2 separate regions of the Homo sapiens genome follow, and region 1 is linked to region 2. The links are contacts of gene promoters, found by promoter capture Hi-C in human tissues and cell types (Jung and others, 2019). All regions are on one chromosome and are shown on one strand. The core of a region is centred on a gene start or on the middle of the fragment in contact, and the rest is flanking DNA. Distances in the headings are between cores, read along the strand shown.

Region 1 (2,700 bases), core at 160-2,659, 52 kb after region 2:
TTTTTTTTTTTTTTTTTGAGATGGAGTCTCGCGTTCGCCCAGGCTGGAGTGCAGTGGCACGATCTCAGCTCACTGCAGGCTCCGCCCCCCGGGGTTCACGCCATTCTCCTGCCTCAGCCTCCCGAGTAGCTGGGACTTCAGGTGCCTGCCACCTCGCCCGGCTAATTTTTTGTATTTTTAGTAGAGATGGGGTTTCACTATATTGTCCAGGGTGGTCTCGAAATCCTGACCTTGTGATCCGCTCACCTCAGCCTCCCAAAGTGCTGGGATTATAGGCATAAGCCACCGTGCCTGGCCTATCCCCCGATTCTTATGATAGCCCTTGTAATCTGATGTATTAGTAAGAGATAGTGGGAAACTCTAAACGATGCAAACCTAAATGAACCTTAAATCTTGTCTCACTTCATACAACGATTTAGGTGATTAAAGCAGTTGGAGAAAAGAAAGAGGAGAGGTGTTTGGGAAAATGTGAATGGATTCCTTTAAACACAGCACAAGGGAGCTGCCCTATGGTTGAAGGGGAAGGAAGTTTTCAATGGTGTTTGAATTATGTGATTTGAGTATGACTAATTTGGAGAGGACCACTGATGTATTGATTGGTAAAGTAATGACAACTTGAAATTTTGGTGATTTCCTAATGAGACCCAAATCCTGGGCTCAGTGGAAATGAATATGGAAGGCGACAGGTAGGATTGATGTAATAAAAAGCTGGTGCCCTTATTGTTCTAAGACTCGTATGTGGTGAGGCAGTTTGGGTATAAGTGCTCATGGGCAGAAGACATTTGAATGGAGCATAACTAGAGACAAGAATCTGGGCCCAGAGAGGTTTTATGTAAATGCATATAATTTGATGTTGAAAGGGTTCACTTATGCAGAAAGTTAGAGATTTGGGCAACATGGCCTAATCACTAGTGATTATAGCAACACCCATTTCTTGAGTATCCACATGCCAGGCTTCTTACCTGTAAGACCTCACTTAATCCTCACAACAGCCATATGGGGTGTGAGTACTGTTATTCCCATGTACGATTGAGGAACCTGAGGGTCAGAGAGATTAAATAATCAGCCCAAGGTCATAGTTAGCAAGTTGTAGGGCTGGGATTTGAACTTATGTTTGCCAGTCTCCAAAGCCTCTTTCAGAGCCTCTAGAAGAGAAGGAACCTTGTGCAATCAAGACTGGAAGAAAAAAAACAGTCCTAGATGAAAGATTGTAAAAAGGCTGCTTTTGGAACTCACAGAAGGGTACTGAAAAAAAACTGTAGAAAGGTGATCTTTCTTTGAAGAAGAGTGTTTAGATTAGTACAGTATGTTACTACTCTGTTGTCCCTACATTTGGACTTATTTCTTAGGAGTCCTTGGTGATTCTTTGGAATTTCTCTGAAGAGAGCAAAAATGTCTGGTGTCTGGAAGCTACTAAAAAGGCAGATAGATAGTGTATGTTAACATAATGAAAAATATCACTAGATGCCTACTTCCTGTGGACTAGCAAGTAAACACTGGGCCATCTTCAAGCTTGGCTGTGTATGTACAAATATCTGTTTAAGTTGACCATCTGCTGTTGTATTGTTGATAAACACCATTATACCAGTGATTTAACTTATGCCCTGGAGGAAGAAGTGCCTTCTAGAATCTCTTAATGGCCATAAAACATTGGCGTTGATAGATTTTAGAGGCAGGCAGCCTTCAAGGCATTCAATGATGAAAATAAAGAAACATTTGTGAAAATTCAGTGAAGATTTCAGAGGCCCTACAGGAACTAGGAGCTTCATACCAAGTTCACATTTGAGTCTGAGTTCAGTTTTAAAGGAAATGACTTTCCATGACAGAATAGTGTGAGATCCAGGCCTTACTCATGGTTGTTGAGTACATGCAGCCTCCAGCCACACGAAATAATACGTTCACCTGGTAAAGAGTGGGGGCTTCATCAGAATCACACCCAACTAGCTCCTTCTCTATGCCTTGTCTTCCTCCAGCGTCTTGTAGAGCTAAAATGTGATGACTCTTTTAGTTTGTATGGAGGAGGGTAAAAATGTGTTTTCAAACTGAGCAAGGGAAGAAGTTTCAGCCATTCCTTTATCTTCTTCCCCTTTTTTTGTATTTCCATTTTCACTTTGAGCATAAATGGGAATCAGAAGGTAGGAGGGAGGATGTTATTATGGATCAGGGACCGAGAATAAAGGGCAGTTTTCAGCTGTATGTTGGAAACTTAAAAAAAAAAAAAAATCCAAACCAAAAAAACTTTCTGTATTCATTCCGTTTTGGAAAAGACTCTGAAAAAGGAATCACATCTTTGATCAAGAGCAATGGTATTAGGTCTTTTACTACAAATTATACTTTTCTGTGAGCCTGTATTTATTTTGCCAGGCTTGAAATAGCTGATGTTATTTAAACAACTGTGTGACTATTGTCTAGGAAATGAGTGTAGGCTGGGAATAGCCTGGCTGATTACATTGTTTAGAAATGAGCCTTATTTTTTGCAGTCCCTTTAGGTGGGAGGGTTCATGAATGTTCCTGTGGTTGGTTGTTCCATGGTGTCTTCTGTTTATATCAAGTCAGTAGCCTCATGATGTCATCATTTTATTCTACCGTATATCATTTTAAGCCTACTGAAGAATGAACAGAGCTAGTTCCATTCCTTGAGACAGATATATAGGCAACATCAAAGAAGACTAATCTTTGATTAGTCTTTGAAATCTCCTA
Region 2 (2,700 bases), core at 181-2,680:
CTGGGTTATTTTGGAAATCTTAAGAATATCTAGGTGATTATCTATCTATCTATCTATCTATCTATCTATCTATCTATCTATCATCTATATTTTACTAACAGGCATTCTAGTATTAAAGCTATGTTGACTAATTTCCATCTATTCCTCTTCCTTAAAGCTCGAATTCCCCAGTCTTCTATGATACCATGTTTGCACATTTTGCTCTTTCCTCACCCTCCTCCCCTTTTCTGGGACAGAAGCTATATTCAGTATGTTTGTGAGAAACGGTTGTAAATAGGCTGCCTTAAAAAAAAAAACAAAAAAACAAAAACAAAAAACACATTTTTTAGTTCTTCTAAACACAAACAAAGGCAATAAAAATTCCCAATGCTACAGGTATTTTAAAAGACATCATTGTCACGAGGTAATTTTGCTTGTGTGTTCCCCAAGGAACTGAAAAGTACATTATAGTCACTGTAACCCTGCTGAGTAGAGACAGTATCTTCTCTTTATTCTTTGTTATTACTGATACTATCTGTTCAGCACATTAAGGAAAGAAATTGGTATCTAATATAATACATCTGCATTTCTCTCATTTCCCATGAGCACCACAAAGCCAGTACTTTTTCATCCTTGGCCCTGCCAGAGTAGAATCCAAGGCCTGAACAATAGTAGGCTTAAGTTTTGCATTTTTGATGTATTCTTTAAGTGAAGGTGGTAAATATTGATATTGGTAAATATCAGTAAATTCGTCTTCTTAAAGCCACAAGGTCAAAGAAAAGACAGGTTCCGTCTTCCTAGGCGGGGTACCCACAGCCCCGCATCTGCCCACTGTGGCTATCCCAGTTCCTGAGAACCTGGCTACATCATACACAGCACACAAGGCAGAGGCCTGACTAGTGCAACTCCAACAAGAGAAAAGACCCCCACTCCGAAAATGGAAACTCATCCCATTCCCATGCACAGACAGGGTGAGGGTGAGGAGTGGGCAGTGGGTGTGTACGTGGTGGGTGGTGTAGGTTGAGAGCGTCTTCCCCCTTCACGGCTGCAGCAGGAGCTCAGCGGGCGCCCCAGCCCCTTGGCTCGCGGCCCTGCCCCGACCATTGTCCGCACACCTCGTCCCTCCAGCTTCCGGGCCGCGGGCGAGATGATTTGCTGCAGATGACATCAGCCCCGGGCCAACGGCTGGAAGAGCGGAGGCAGCCACCGCGTGAGGATGTGCCGGGTGGTCCTTTCCTCCTCCTCTTCCTCCTCCTCCCGGCTCCCTGCCTAGTCTCCATATAAAAGCGGCGCCGCCTCCCCGCCCTCTCTCACTCCCCGCTCCTCTCCGCCGCGCACTCTCCGCGGCGCTGGGAGAGGGCGGAGGGGGAGGCGGCGCGCGGCGCCAGAGGAGGGGGGACGCAGGGGGCGGAGCGGAGACAGTACCTTCGGAGATAATCCTTTCTCCTGCCGCAGTGGAGAGGAGCGGCCGGAGCGAGACACTTCGCCGAGGCACAGCAGCCGGCAGGATGGCGACCGTGGTGGTGGAAGCCACCGAGCCGGAGCCGTCCGGCAGCATCGCCAACCCGGCGGCGTCCACCTCGCCTAGCCTGTCGCACCGCTTCCTTGACAGCAAGTTCTACTTGCTGGTGGTCGTCGGCGAGATCGTGACCGAGGAGCACCTGCGGCGTGCCATCGGCAACATCGAGCTCGGTAAGTGGCCCCGCGCCCCCAGAGACGCGCGCTGGGAGACGCGCAAACACGACCCCACCCAGGGCGCGACGGTCACTGCGCTCCTCCCGCGCGCCCCGCACCCATGCCTCTCCTCGTCACCTCTCATACTTGGTCCAGACCCTTTCTGGGCTAATTAAGAATAATCCGAATTATTAGATATGAGACCCAGAGGGAGAGTCTCCAATAACCTTGAGGGATCTGTCACCACGCTGAGTCCGCAGCCTGTGCTGAGTTGGCCACCGCCTCTCCCGCTAAGTGAAATGCAGGTGTCAGGGGAGCAGAGGCCACAATAAAGCCGCAACCGCAGGAGGCAGAAGGGTGGGGGAGACCTGATGCAACCACTCCTTTCAGTCCTCTTCTGGCCTCAGGAAAAGGCTGGGACCCCCACCACCGCAGACCTGGGGCCGAAGCCCATGTGCCAGGGCCCGCGTGGGATTCATCCTCACCACGGCTACCTCAGCCCCTGAGAAACGCCTTTTCTGATTTCAAACCTCCCGATCCTTTCTTTCCTCAGAATGACTAGGCTAGTCCTAGGGCCACGCCCGCTCCCCCCGCCCCCCCCTCCCCGGGGAGATGCTGGGATGCAGAACCGCCTGCGCTTCGCCACCAGACAGAGCCCGCCTCGCTACCGCCCTTGGGGCCTTGGCTGCAGCTCTCAGAAAGGACAATGGGACCCCAAGTTGCGGGGTGGGGCTGCTGCTTTTAGAAGTCCCAGCCTCGGGAGTGGTAGCTTGAAGGGGGTCGGTGAGGGAGACGTCAGCGGGTAGGGTCAGCTCCTCGCCCGGTGCTCGCACCAGTGGCGCGCTCTGCGGAGGCCGAATAGCGGTACGCCGGGGACCCTGGGCGGGGCCGTGAGGGTCCGGCGGGCACAGCCTCGGGCGCACAGAGAGACCGCCCCCAGCCCCACCCGAGCTGCCGCAGTGCCTCCGGACCGCCCGCCACACCTGCCCCCCCACACTGCGGCGCCCCCGTCGGGCACGGCTGGCTGGGCTTGCGCTCCGCCCGGGC

What was found. Contacts are between HindIII fragments. The study calls those that stand out against the background at their distance.
Region 1: a fragment that was not itself captured here is called in contact with the fragment with the promoter of MAP1B in region 2 in 1 of the 25 tissues and cell types used here (bladder).

Annotation. Positions count from the first base shown.
Region 1 is chr5:72,158,011-72,160,710 of GRCh38, forward strand. All of the region lies in intron 2 of MAP1B (microtubule associated protein 1B), which reads left to right. Among named protein-coding and RNA genes, the nearest start is that of MIR4803, 10 kb to the right of the region's middle. RefSeq lists an enhancer at 100-599. The HindIII fragment of the contact is 3,214 bases long and covers 1-2,700 here.
Region 2 is chr5:72,106,045-72,108,744 of GRCh38, forward strand. MAP1B (microtubule associated protein 1B) reads left to right here and starts at 1,431. Exons shown (of 7, transcript NM_005909.5): 1 at 1,431-1,671. The coding sequence starts at 1,488. LOC105379028 (a long non-coding RNA gene) reads right to left here. Exons shown (of 3, transcript XR_007058813.1): 2 at 1,881-1,943. RefSeq lists an enhancer at 1,350-2,332. The HindIII fragment of the contact is 7,344 bases long and covers 28-2,700 here.